5 separate regions of the Homo sapiens genome follow, and regions 1, 2, 3 and 4 are each linked to region 5. The links are contacts of gene promoters, found by promoter capture Hi-C in blood cells and fetal thymus (Javierre and others, 2016). All regions are on one chromosome and are shown on one strand. Each heading gives the region's core, a stretch centred on a gene start or on the middle of the fragment in contact. The rest is flanking DNA. Distances are from core to core; before and after follow the strand shown. Region 1 has its middle 26 kb from the start of RNF150. Region 2 has its middle 42 kb from the start of TBC1D9. Region 3 overlaps LOC124900794 (a long non-coding RNA gene). Region 4 has its middle 6.9 kb from the start of RNF150. Region 5 holds the start of USP38 (ubiquitin specific peptidase 38).

The links. The method cuts DNA at HindIII sites, captures the fragments that hold promoters and counts their contacts. A CHiCAGO score of 5 or more calls a contact.
Region 1: a contact is called between a fragment that was not itself captured here and the fragment with the promoter of USP38 in region 5, in 1 of 17 cell types (monocytes). The highest score is 9.4, in monocytes.
Region 2: a fragment that was not itself captured here is called in contact with the fragment with the promoter of USP38 in region 5 in 1 of 17 cell types (monocytes); the score reaches 6.2 in monocytes.
Region 3: a fragment that was not itself captured here is called in contact with the fragment with the promoter of USP38 in region 5 in 4 of 17 cell types (total CD4 T cells, naive CD8 T cells, total B cells and 1 more); the score reaches 11.3 in total CD4 T cells.
Region 4: a fragment that was not itself captured here is called in contact with the fragment with the promoter of USP38 in region 5 in 1 of 17 cell types (monocytes); the score reaches 6.7 in monocytes.

Annotation. Positions count from the first base shown.
Region 1 is chr4:141,158,556-141,161,255 of GRCh38, reverse strand. It overlaps a transcript of RNF150 not described here. Among named protein-coding and RNA genes, the nearest start is that of RNF150, 26 kb to the right of the region's middle. The HindIII fragment of the contact is 7,432 bases long and covers 1-2,700 here.
Region 2 is chr4:140,797,295-140,799,994 of GRCh38, reverse strand. No RefSeq gene overlaps it. Among named protein-coding and RNA genes, the nearest start is that of TBC1D9, 42 kb to the right of the region's middle. The HindIII fragment of the contact is 6,894 bases long and covers 1-2,700 here.
Region 3 is chr4:145,184,589-145,187,288 of GRCh38, reverse strand. LOC124900794 (a long non-coding RNA gene) reads right to left here. Exons shown (of 2, transcript XR_007058294.1): 2 at 2,447-2,700. Among named protein-coding and RNA genes, the nearest start is that of OTUD4, 5.4 kb to the right of the region's middle. The HindIII fragment of the contact is 519 bases long and covers 1,137-1,655 here.
Region 4 is chr4:141,138,971-141,141,670 of GRCh38, reverse strand. It overlaps a transcript of RNF150 not described here. Among named protein-coding and RNA genes, the nearest start is that of RNF150, 6.9 kb to the right of the region's middle. The HindIII fragment of the contact is 6,967 bases long and covers 1-2,700 here.
Region 5 is chr4:143,183,588-143,186,287 of GRCh38, reverse strand. It overlaps USP38 (ubiquitin specific peptidase 38), which reads right to left and starts at 1,371. Exons shown (of 10, transcript NM_032557.6): 1 at 156-1,371. The coding sequence starts at 837. It overlaps USP38-DT (USP38 divergent transcript), which reads left to right and starts at 1,427. Exons shown (of 4, transcript NR_185979.1): 1 at 1,427-1,780. RefSeq lists silencers at 980-1,229, 1,450-1,499 and enhancers at 551-1,435, 1,436-2,321. The HindIII fragment of the contact is 4,447 bases long and covers 1-2,700 here.

The sequences.
Region 1 (2,700 bases), core at 132-2,631, 2.0 Mb after region 5:
GGGTACAGTCAAAACAGGGGTTTTTGCTAAAGCATAGCAAAAGTGATCTTTACTTGAGTTCTCAATAAGTTCCTCATCTTCATCTAAGACCTCATTATCCAGGACTTTAATGTCTATATCACTATCAGCGCTTCGGTCACAACCATTTAACCAGTTTCTAGGGTGTCCCAAATTTTCCCTCACCTTCCTATCATCTTCTGAGCCCTCCAAACTCTTCCAACCTCTGCTCATTACTCAATTTCAAAGTTGCTTCCATATTTTCAGGTATCCTTATAGCAATGCCTTACTCCTCAGTACTAATTTTCTGTATTAGGCCACTCTCTCATTGATATAAAGAAATACCTGAGACTGGGTAATTTATAAAGAAAAGAGGCTTAATTGGCTTACAGTTCCACAGATTGTAGAGGAAGCATGATGCTGGCATCTGCTCAGCTCCTGGGGAGGCTTCAAGAAACTTTCAATCACGGCAGAAGGTGAAATGGCAACAGATATGTCTTACTTAGCTAGAGCAGGAAGAAGTGGGAGGGGGAGGTGCCACACACTTTTAAACAACCAGCTCTTGTGAGAACTCACTCACTCTATAGTACCAAAGAGGGGACGGTGCTAAACCATTAGAAGTCACGCCCATGATCCAATCATCTTCCACCAGGCCCCACCTCCAACACTGGGGATTACTATTTGACATAAGATTTGGGCAAGGATAGAGATCCAAACCATATCATTGATAAATTAATTAATTTTGTTATTTTATGTTTTTCTATGAGTTGACATACTTTTAGATTATCTGTAAAGTTTCACAATGATACTTTGCAAAGACACTTTATACAAAGTTACATACATTTAGATTTATACAAATATACAATAATGATGCTTGGGATAAGATTTATCAGCCTGCCAACCAGCATTTCCCCAGTAATGCAGATTTCTAATTCCTTCAGTCACTTCCTTCCTACAGACTTCCTTTCCATACTTATTCTTGTAACAGTTGATTTGCCTTAGCCAGATAATCTGTGATAACTTCCATTTTCTTTCCTTTCCTTATCTTATGGTATGTTAAAATTTTGATTGGAGCTATGTAATAGTGATTTTTCAAGTTTTAGCATGCATCAGAATACCCTGGAGGACTTGTGAAAACACAGATTGCTGAACCAGCTCAGTAGTTCTGGGGTGGGGCCTGACAATTTGCATTTCTTACCAGGTGCCAGGTGACCCCACTGCTGATGACCTGGGGCAGAGCTTCTAGAATCACAGCTGTAGAACCTTTGGGAATCAAGGATTCTTGCAAAATTATCACAATTGTTGCGAATTGTAACAGACAAAAGTAGGGAGTTTGAAAAAAAAACACACCAGTAAGGACTGGCATTTGACAATGGCTGAAATATTACTTGAACAAATTAGAAAGAAGAAAGACAGGCTGGGCGCAGTGGCTCACACCTGTAATCCCAACACTTTGGGAGGCCAAGGTGGGTGGATCACTTGAACCCGTAAGTTGGAGATCAGCCTGGGCAAACATGACGAAACCCTGCGTTTACAAAAAATACAAAAATTAGCCAGGTGTGGTCACATACAGCTGTAGTCCCAGCTACTTGGGAGGCTGTGGTGGGAGGATCACTTGGGCCCAGAAGGTGGAGGCTGCAGTTAGCCATGATTGCGCCACTGCACTCCAGCCAGGGTGACACAGCAAGGCCCTATTAAAAAAACAAAAAACAAAAAACAACAAAAACAAAAAACAACAACAACAACAATTAGGGGTCAGCAAACTCTAGCCCACAGCCCAAATCTTGTCTGCTGCTTGTTTTGGTAGAGATTGTGAGCTATGTACAAAACTCATATGGCTGAGAGTTTTTAGATTTTAAATTGTTTGGGGAAAAGCAAAAGGAGAATAATATTTCATGATGTGAAAATTATATTAATGTCAAATTTCAGTGTCTACAAACTAAGTTTTGTTGGAACACAGCCACATTCACTGATTACATGTTGTCCAAAGCCACTTTCAAGCTACAATGGCGAATTAGATTAGTTCCAACAGAGACCCTAGATGACCCACAGAGCCTAAAACATTTTCTTACCCAGTTCTTTACAGAGAAAGTTTACTGACCTCTGGTCAAAAATTTGGAAACAGCTTGTTAACCAAAATAATACCAGCTGTTGAACTTCTCTTCATTTAAAGTGATAATGTGGTTTTCTAGCTCCAAATAGGGGCTGTAGTTTACAGCATTTTCCAGATTGGCTTGGCTGAGAAACACTTTCTTTTATGAAACGATTCACACCATACATATTTTAAAGAACACCAAGTTGGGAACTGCCATTTCAAAGCACCCTCAAGATGGTAACATAAACTTAACAAAAAGGAATGAAGAACTAATGGCAAAATTTCAGATTATCTGTGAATAAATTGGAAGGATGGTTCAGGTAAAAAGAGGTTTTGAGTTCTAAATGTCTCACAAATTATACTCACAGGAAATACTGATAGTTCTTCCTTGGAATATAACAATGTGGGTTGGGGTGGTGGGGGCGGGGTAGGGATAACTTTGAGGAAAGAACCTTATCTATTAACACTTCCACTATCTGTACATTGTAAAAATGAAATGGTAATGATAAATGAGCAGAAATGTCACAGAAAAATTTGACTATGTCAGTTCAGCAGAATGTTTGGTAAATGTTAATACACTAAGGATGAGCTTTCTATAGTTGTAATTC
Region 2 (2,700 bases), core at 143-2,642, 2.4 Mb after region 5:
TGCTATGCAGAGAATAAGCTGAAGAAACCTAGAGCAGAAGCAGGGAGATCAGTGAGGAGATTATCACAATAATCTCGGCGAGAAGCAGTGATGGTGATGAGGCCGGGGGAACCCCATGGAGGCAGTGTGAAGTGTTTGCAGCCGGGATCTAAGTTGAGGGTAGAGAACAGGATTTCCTGACAGATTGGGCAGGAGGAATGAGAAAAGGAGAGAAGTGAAAGGTGACCCTAAACTTTCGCTCTGAGGGATTGGAAGACTAGAGGTGCCATTCATTGAAATAAAGAAGACTGCAAGAATAACAGATTGAAGGAAGGCGGGAGGAAGATCAGGGCTCATTTTTGTAAGTTTATGGTAAACTCGAGGAAGTTTATAGACAGCCAAGTGGTATGTCAAGTTGGAAATTGGTTATCACAGCTTGGAGTTCAGAAGAGAGGTCCATGGACTAGGCGTGAGGGCTCATGCTTATAATCCCAGCACTTTCGGAGGCTGAGGCAGAAAGACTGCTTGAGGCCAGGAGTTTAAGACAAGACTGGGCAGCATAGTGAGACCCCCATCTCTACAAAAAATAAAATAATAAGCTGGGTGTAGTGGCATGCAGATGTAGTTCCAGCTACTTGGGAGGCTGAGGCAGGAGAATCACTTGAGCCCAGGAATCCAAGGCTGCAGTGAGCCACGATTGAGCCACAGCCTGGGCAACAGAGTGAGACCTTATCTCTAAAAGAAAAAAAAAAAAAAAAAAAAAAAAAGAGGTCCAGGCTGAAATAAACAGCTGCTAAACTAAAAGGAAAAATGAGGCAGGCTGTTGGAGATAAAGATCAATAAGGGTTAAGGATGCCATTCTAGATAGGAGAGCTAAAGACCTCACTGAAAAGGGATATTTGAACAGAGACCTGGTTGAAGGGAAGGAGAAACCCACTCAGTTATCAGAGGGAAGGGGAGCCCAGCAGAGGAAAGAGCACACTCAGGACTAGTGGAGAGCATGCTTGGCTTTGAGAGGAAGAGCCAGAAGTTCAATGGGGTCACCAAGAGATGGCCTGGTAAGGATATAAAACCAGAGAAGTAGCAAGGGATTACATCATGCATTCCAGTCCTTGCTCTGCCACTTGCTAAGAGTACACCCTGGCTGGGTGCAGTGGTTCATGCCTGTAATCCCAGCACTTTGGGAGGCCGAGGTGGGCAGATGCTTGAGGCTAGGCATTTGAGATGAGACCAACCTGGCCAACATAATGAAACCCCAGCTCTACTAAAGATACAAAAATTAGCCAGGTGTGATGACACACACCTGTAGTCCCAGCTATTCGGGAGGCTGAGACAGGAGAAACACTTCAACCCAGAAGGTGGAGGTTGTAGTGAGCCGAGATCGTGCCACTGCACTCCAGCCTGGGTGACAGAGCGAGACCCTGACTCAAAAAAAAAAAAAAAAAAAAAAAAGAGTACACCCTTAGATAAATTACGTACCTTTTCTCAGCTCCATTTTCTTTATAATGGGGTAGTAATGGAACTTACCCACTTAGGATATTGAGAGAATCAGATGAGATCACGTACACAAAGCATTTAACACAGTGCCTGCAGCATAGGTGAAATTTCCCGGGTATTCACTAAGTACATTTCAAAGTGTCCTGCAGCATCTCCTGTGTGGTTTCTGGGTGAATAATTTCATCTCTCTGGGAAGTTTGGGTTTTGTGGTTGGTGTTAGGCTCCTCAGCTCCTCAGCTTCCATTTTGCTGGTCCTGCTGGCACAGTCACCCATCTGGTAGTTTGTCCTTGATAACCACAGCTCATGGGCACTTTCGGATGGGCAGGGGAGTCTGGGAGATCCACAGTCACTGACTTGAATTGCAGATGGTGTGACTCCGTGCTCACCCACAACCTCCAGCTCGTTGGTTCTAACACTGGATCTCCCCCCCGCCAACAAGGGTTACTCCAGGGTTGGCAAGACGTCCAGTCAAGTCATTCCATCCCCAGATAAGCTCTCACCAATCTCTTGGCAAGAAACCCAGTCACATCTGGCCTTGACTAATGATATTAGTCTTCACCCTGAATCTCAAGGGAGCAATGTCCCAGAGGCTTCTACTCTGGATGTTCCTTCCTCCCTACTCAACTGGCATAAAAAGGGGAGGGTTAAAACACAGAAGTTTGCTCTACTTAAGCATAGCTATGTTGGGAAAATGCATTTCATTTCATACATCAAATGTAAGTTAAGACCCCCGACACAATATCCTGGGAACACCCTGATGCAAGGTTAAGGGGGGAAAACTGTAAAGATTGAGGGAAAGAGAGAAAAAGGAGAGCAGATAAAATGAATTTTTATTAAGTCTTACCCAACATTGAGTCAACCATTCAGAAAAAAAAAATCAGATAATATGCTAATGACTACAACCTAGCCAGATGCTAACACACACCCTCTATTGTGCTTCAGAGTGAACCAGGTTCATCCTTTCTCAGGAGAGTCTGACCATTGCTCTTCCAATTTTCAGTACGAAAATGTGATAAGGAATGAGACCAAGTCAAGGGCTACGGAGAACAGGAAAAGCTGAATGCAAGCAACAATCTGACTGTCAAAGACGAACTAAGCTGGACACTAGCTAAAGCCAGAAGGATAGATTTTATTCAGTAATAACTATCGCTATAGGGAAGGAGTCCAGCAGGAACTGAACTTTAGCTTCAATGAAACAGAAGGAAGAGACTTTTTTTTTTTTT
Region 3 (2,700 bases), core at 147-2,646, 2.0 Mb before region 5:
GAATACATGAAATCATTTAATGAATATTCATTGAATTTTTAATCTGAATATGCAAAAGCAAATATACTATTAGACACTTGAAAAAGAAAAAAAGAATCTTAAATTCTACAAGCCTACAAAGAGTTTACAATCCTATTTGGGGAGCTAAAGTAAATACCTTGCAATGGGACTTTGCAAGTTTGCTTCTGTCAGGGTGGAATCAAGAGGTAGTGGTGGAAGGAGAGGTAAATGGTTGGAAGTACGTGGAGGTTTTATTTGCAGAGATAATGGACTATGACTAGCTATAGCTACTTGTGTAAGAGCCTCAGTCTACTGTGAGGTTTATTAGTTCATCCAGCTTAGGCATAGGAATATACGGAAGTCGAAGCTCTAATAAGAAACTAAATCATAGTTTCACTTCTCTAGTCATACAGGTTATAGGGTCTCAGGACTGCAGTCCTAGCTCTGGGGTTTGAAACTTATTCAGTTCATCTGTCTAAAGTGCAGATGGGGGCTCTTTTTTCTCTACTAGGATTGAGTAAGGATCTCATGGCATATACCAACTTTGGTACTACAGAGCAGTCAAGCTACGAAGTGCTGGTACAGTTAAGTAGCATGGCCAACAAGAGATGCTCCCTCATGCGGAGGCTGGATGGTGAGCTAGAAAAGACAGATATCTGAGCATTTGCAGCCAAGCCCCTTGCAAGGTCCTTCTCTAGGTTAGCTCACTTGGCTAATAGATGGCACCAGGGTCCTGGCCCCTTTACCCTTCCTTGTACTTCCTTCCTTCTTTCCTTTTTTTTTTTCTTTTGTAATTTTTTGAATTGATCTTGATGACCATTAAGCCAGAGTGAAATTTTAAAAATTACTTTAAAAACTAAGAAAAGTGGTCTTCTTTTCTTTCAAGCCTTGATCTTCAAACACTCTCCTGCAGTAAGAAGTATTTGCTTCCCATTTTGGGAGATGAAGTCTCCCCTCTGTAATTCTTTTGATCCTTTTGCTCTAGCAAGGAAAAGGTAAACTAACTCATGCAATGTTATTTTCTGCTATGCAGGAATGTATAGTATTGAAGACTTGGAAGGCTTGTGAAGGACTTTGCTAAGGTTGATATTCCAAGTTACCAGAGAAGGTGGGCAATGCGTATAGAATCATAAGCTTACTAGGTAAAATCTTTTACTACTACCAGCCAGTTCCTCCTTGTGATAGCTTGCAAATGAAACACAAAAGCTATAGCATACATTCTCTCCTATCATTTCATTCTGTTGTAAATTTACAGATAAGATTATTTTTCTGAATGATCATTCCTCCAAAATATAAATTGGAAATGTAGTCCCATCACACCAGTTTTTTCCTGATTTTCCTGAGCATTTAACTAAATTATTTCATTTGCAAAAAGTTGGTTTTTATCACCTTGACTATAACTCCTTATTGTTTCTCATCTATTCCACAGAGAATGGATAACGATTAAGCAAAAACAAGAGCTATCTACCATAATAAATGATACATCATTAAATCATTCAGCAAATGTTGTGTTTTTTGAGTATCTACTATTTAAACCCAATGCTTGATGTTAGAGTGCTTGAGGGGGATGGTTTTAAGGGAAAAATGAGTTTACTTTTAGAAATGTGTTTTAGATGGAAATGTCCTGCATGGACTAGAGATAAGACATTAAAGCTTGAAAAAGAGAACAGGGCTAAATAAAGTTAAAACTTGAGACCTGGGGCACCCCCACATTTAGGAGATGGGGAGTGGGGGAGAAAAGGAATCAGCAAAGGAGATATAATCAAGACAAGATATTTAAATAGCTTGACTACACAAGATATCTCACCTTACAAAAGGTGAAGGAGAGTAACAAAATGAAAAGGTGGTCAACACCATCAAATGTAGCAGCTGAAGGGGAATGTGGGTTGGTGAGGGAGAAAGTCATTAGTTGAAATAACACCATTATTTCGATGTTAAAACTTCATATTTTGAAGCCCTTTAACATTTGGAATCTTGCAATTAAGACTTTGGCAATTCCCTAACTTCTCAGAAAAAAGAATTATGGGCCAGGTGTGGTGGCTCACGCCTGTAATCTCAGCACTTTTGGAGGCTGGGGCAGGAGGATTGCTTGTACTCAGGAGTTTGAGACCAGCTGGGGCAACATGGCGAAAACCCATCTCTACTAAAAACACACAAAATATTAGCTGGGAGTGGGGGTGCACACCTGTAGTCCCAGCTACTTTGGAGGCTAAGGTAGGAAGATCACCTGAGCCTGGGGAGGTGAGCCGTGATGGTGCCACTGCACTCCAGCCTGGGTGACAGACTCTGTCTCAAAAGAAAAAAAAAAAGAATTATGTTCTGCTCAACTCAGAAACTCTTATAAATAAATTTAATTTGTCCCAAATGTTATCACTTATTTAATATTTGAGGGGGAAATGTGCTAGAATACATAGACTAAGTAGCTATAATAACAACAGCAGCAACGGTTGGTAAAATAAGTTTATTTCTCACAGTCTGGAGAGGACTGGTTCAAGGATCACAGGCTATGAAGTATTCAGGAGCTCAGTCCTCCATCTCATTGCTCTGTTATCTTACGGTGTTGTCTTTGCATGATCAAAGCTGGGTAACTAGTTTCGTTTTTTGTTTTTTTTTTTTGAGACGGAATCTCCCTCTGTTGCCCACCCAGGCTGAAGTGCAATGGCCGGATCTTGGCTCGCTGCAACCTCCGCCTCTCGGTTT
Region 4 (2,700 bases), core at 153-2,652, 2.0 Mb after region 5:
GCCACCACGCCCAGATAATTTTTGTATTTTTTAGTAGAGACAGGGATGTGCCATGTTTGGCAGGCTGGTCTTGAAATCCTGGCCTCGAGTGATCTGCCGCCTTGGCCTCCCAAAGTGCTGGAATTACAGGCATGAACCATTCACAATCTTATTCTTAATAAGCTCAAGGAGGAAAACTTTTTCAAAGAGAGAGGAAACCTGTTCTTGTGTCAAGGGTATTGCATAGCTAGCTTCCTCAACCAGAATTTCCAAGTACCTTATCCAGATTCGTTTGTAGACTCCAATAGAGTCAAGCCTAGCAGCAACAGTAACAGAAATGGAAATACAAAATTGTACATGACCTCATTAACAGAATCACTAAGTCCACAGAATGTAAGTTTGAGAGGTCTTTAAACATCATCAATTTCAACACCTTCATTTTACAGAAGAGAAACTTTACAGAAGGTACTGCTCTACTAATTCAGTGTAGATAACAAACATGAAAACCAGCACAGGACCTGGCTTATGGGAAATAGTAAATGCTATTTTCTGTCCCCTGTTCCTTTCCAGTGTCCTTACTATGTGGTGAGAGAACTAGTCAATGGAAATACATTAATGCTGTAGTCTTGTGACTGGCTCTGTGTGATTATGGCTCAGTGGATATTTAGGAATTAGTACCAATAGGAAAGCATGACAAAATGAGTGATTAGTCATGCTGCAGTCTTGACCTAAATAGCAAATTAGGCACAGAGCTGGGATTAAAACTCTGACACCTGTGTTTGCAGTGCTACCGCTGTCTCCCTCAATTGTCCTAGATTGCTGTTTACCAGCCCTGTGGGAATGGGCCTCATCATAAAAGGGAAAGTATTTATGAAAACATCCTTCTAAACAACCAAATAGAAAGGGCAGGAAGAGGGCCTGGATTCTCTCCCCTCTTTTGTGGTAATTTTAACACAGTACAATTTACAGATGCTTGTGTCTAACAGCTGTCCGGCTCAGTCAGTGCACAGTGCTCTGAATGTCTTGGCTTTTAGTTCAACCTCCCTCATTCCAGCTTTTTGGCGAAAAAGGACAAGATGATCTTTCAAAGAGCAGAAAAAGAAAAGCAGATAGTTTTTAAAATGTACTCAATGAAAAGTAATGATTTAGAACAAAAAAAAATGAACAACTATGTGAAAAAATAAGAAGAAAAAGGAAACAGATGTATTGTGGTGAGAGTTTTCTGTGGGTTTTGGCTCAAGTCTCAAATGAGTTTTTCCAAGCTGACTTTCCATATCTAGCCTCCCAAAACATTTTATGACATAAAGTTGTTTGGAAGAGTTTATGATAAAAGGAAAGAAGCCCAAATTAAATGTCAAAATTGTATCAAAGACTGAAATAAAAAGAAGTCACTTGATAATTCAAAGGAGCAAAAAAGAAAAAAGGATATTTTTAGCAAGGTATCCTATTGTTCTGAAATTTAAGAAGTTAGTAAGAGAACAAAGAGCAAAGAAGTGAATATTATTAGTTTCATGCATACTCTCTAAAAAAACGTTTCCAAAACCTTCCATTTCCATCTGCAGTACTTGTAGCAGAAGCTGCAGGGGTTGCTGGGCTCTTAAAGTTCATATACCTTGCCCGTACAGCAAGTACCTGGCCTCAGAGAAGCAACGCGCCCCACCACCAATGCTAAGAAAACTTACGAAAGCAAAAAATGAAGTGAAGGCTTGAGAGCTGAAATGAACAAAGAAATTAAGCAGAGGAAAAAGAAGTGAAGTTCAAATCAGAGTCAAGTTAATGAACAAGATGATGAATATCTGAGACAAAAAGACTACCAATGTGGTAGTATAGCCCTTAAAATCATACCCTAGAGTCAGACTTCCAGGATTACAACCCCCACTCTTATACTTGCTACCTGCATGGCCTCGGGCAAGTTACTCCACTCTTAACTTTTTGTTTCTTCATTTGTGTAATGACCTCATAAAATCATCCTGAGAATTAATTAAGACAGTCTATGTAGTTAATAAAGTGCTTAGAACAAATAGTGCCTGCATGTACATTAAGTGGTCAAAAACTGCAGCTCTTCATTACTATTTATTATTCAACACATTTACTGATGCCTTCTATGGGCCAGACACTGCAGCAGACGCTGAGAATATAGTCATAAGCAGGACATCTTTCTTGAACAGCTCTGCAAGCCTACTCCTTTGTAAGGCTATCTGGGCTAACTGTGATGCAGAATCGACCTGGTTCAATCATCCCTAAATGTTTTCATTTCTATGTGGAATTACTGCTCTCACTGAATTCTTATATGTGTGTTTTAAAAATGACCACACTCCACCTTCACAATTCACCTAGATGATTACATCTGTCGCTAAAACTAGATTCTAAACTTGATGGGAGGAGCCCTGCCATTCCTCTGAGCGTCAGCGCAGGGCCTAACACAGAGATGGCAACCATATAAACATAAATGAATACCCTACTTTATTTTTTCGAGACAGGGTCTCGCTGTATCATCCAGGCTGGAGTACAGTGGCGTGATTGGTCATGGCTCACCACAGCCTCGAACTCCTGTGCTCAAGTGATCCTCCTGCTTCAGCCTCCCAAGCAGTTGGGACTACAGGCACTTGTGCCACCATGCCTAGCTAAATTTTTCTTTGTCTTCTTTTTGTAGAGACAGGGTCTCCCTATGTCGCCTAAGGCTGGTCTTGAACTCCTGACCTCAAGCAATCCTCCCGCTTC
Region 5 (2,700 bases), core at 122-2,621:
GTAGTGAATGTGAATAAATTTGGGATGAGGTATTAGGATTTGCTCTCGCTTAAGAATGTTTTTAGGGCAGGAGGAAAACATGGTGTGAATGTGTGTGTGCAAGAGAGACATATACTGATTTTTTATGAGATATTCTGAAAGATAATGACCCTTACCTGTGGAAGAGATGCTTGCAAAAACTTCTTGCAGGGAAGGCAGTAGTGTGGCAGGCTCGGCCTTCCAGATGTTCTGCAGCAAGTTACTCACTTTTGTCACCTGGGAGACATATTCCCGCAGCTCTCTTTCCTGGGTGGACACGCACTGGAAATGGCCTATCGTTCGAACCAGCTGTTGACAGAACGTGATGGACAATTTCCCCTTGGGGATGCATTGCACAAAGTCGGTCAGAAGGTCGCTCAGTCGGGCACAGAGCTGCGGCTCCGGCCTCTCACACACCATCCGTAACACCTCTACCTGCAGGAGGCTAAAGAGATCCAGCACCGACGGACAGCTCATAATCAGCTTCAGGCCGTTGTGAATGTAGTCCAGGATGGCTACATCCTTCCTGTCCAGAGAGTGGTAGCCCTGATGAAGGAGGCCCAACACGAAGGTCTTGTTGAAGAAGGACTCGAACTCTGGCCGGTGGTATCGTGCGTAGGCCTCCAGCACCTGGTGCCCCACCTGCCGCTGGAAAGGGTCCTGGCCCTCCAGGATGAGCCGGGTCGTCAGGTCAAACATGGCCTCGCACTGCGCCTCGTCTAGCCAGTGCTCCGCCGATTCCACCACCTTCCGCACAATCACCCGCTTGAGGGGCAGGGGATGCGAGGAACTCACAAGGCCCTCCAGGATCTTGTCCATTGTCGCCACGCTGCAAGGCCAGGGCCAGGGGATAAGGAGCGGGTGGCGGCAGCCCCGAGGTGGGGCAGGAGAGCCCCGGGGCGGAGATGAACTTGGAGCGCCGCAGCAGCAGCGCGACGGGCCACGGCCACCGCCGCCTCAGCAGCCACATTTATGGCGCAGGGAGACCCATCCAAGCCGGGGCGGGAGCTAGCGAGCCTGGAGAGCCTAAGAACCGACACCTGCGGCTGGCCTAAGGCGCCAGAGGCCCGTACTCCGCCGCCGCCCCGGGCCCTCGATCCCACTCAGCATCAGCGCCGAGGGGCCTGTCGGGCCCCCCAGCGGCGTCGGCGGGAGCTCAGGGCCCGGGGCTGCTAGCCGGCGGGTGGAGGAAGCACGCCTCCGAGTTCCGGGTCAGGTGTGGGCGTCCAGTCTCCAGCAGGTCGTGAGAAGAAGCCGGTCCTGGGCTGAGTCAGGAGGCGCTGTCACGGAGAGTGCTGGGATCAGCCGGGGAGAAGAGACCGAAGCGACACCCTTTGACCCGGATTTTGAAGTGCCGGCAAACAGGAAGTGAAGGACCTAAGAACCTCCGGAAGGACCGCCCCTCCGCCCCTCTGCCCCTCCGCCCCTCCGCCTGTCCGCCTCTCTCCTTCTCCCTTGTTCCCTCTCTCCCTCCCTGCTCCCCCACCTCCCTCCCGAGTCGTAGACTCCCTTCCCCCCGGCGCTGGGAGTCTCCTTCCCGCCCCGCCGCGCAGGTGCGGCGACGGCCGCGTCACTGGAGAGTGTGTCGAGTCACAGGCGGTCTTCCGCGCGGAGCGTCCCCGGCGGACGCTGCGCAGATGGCTGCGACTGTAGGATTCTTGCCGGCTAGTCTTCGTCGGTTCCGCCTGCGTCAGGTTACTCGTGAAAACTCGAATAAGTGCTATCGATGTGAAATCCGAGGAAAAGAGCATTTGGGGGAAAAGTAAGGAAAACTCAAAACTCGGATTGAGAAGTCTGCCTTGGCTCATTAATCAAGAATTGCGCTTGCGCGCCTAAATGTGACTGCCTTTATCCTGCGATGTCGGTATTGAAGTAAGAGCAATACTGGCGGCGTACCTAGCATTTAGCGACCATCAGTATCAGTAGCAGGCCTCTAGCAAAGAACCAGTTAGTGAGCTTTGTACCATATCGAAAATTATAAGCCGTCCAAAAAAGTGTGAGAGTAAGGAAAATGGCAGATTAGAATCAAAATATTTTTATACCTGTGTCATACAAGGGTACTTTGAAAATAGAAAACCAGGTGGAAATACCACAAAACTTATTGTATATGTTGACACCGAAGATGGTTTACAATAGGGAAGAACAGGTGCAATCATGCTTGTTCTGTTTCATGCCAAATTCCGAAGATTCACAGTAAGAATTTAATCAGAGGTCTTTATATTGGAAAATATTGCCTAACTGTAGCCTGCTTCAGGCTTGGTTAATATAGTTGTGAAACTAGACATTAAGGCCCTGTAATACAGACAAAACTTTAAAGAAATAGGTCATTTAAAATGTCCCGTAGAAAAATGAACAAAATTCTGTTACTTCAGTTTGCTAAATAGTGTTTTGTTTTTTTACCAAGTTACAAACACGATTACACTAATATATTCACACGTCGATTATGGTAGTCTTAAGAAGAGCAGTTTAGAGGAGACAGGAGCTTGAGTAAAAGGGAACTTAAGACCAAGTTGACTCGTAGGAAGATACGGAAGATAAAAGAGAATTGAGGTAATTAATCTATCAGTCATGCTAGAGACAGGAATGATTTTTCCAATAGGAGGTGAAGGTACACAGATGTTTGTCTTTACTGGGAATAATGCCACAGTGGAAGACAAAGGTAATATAGAAAATAAAATATTA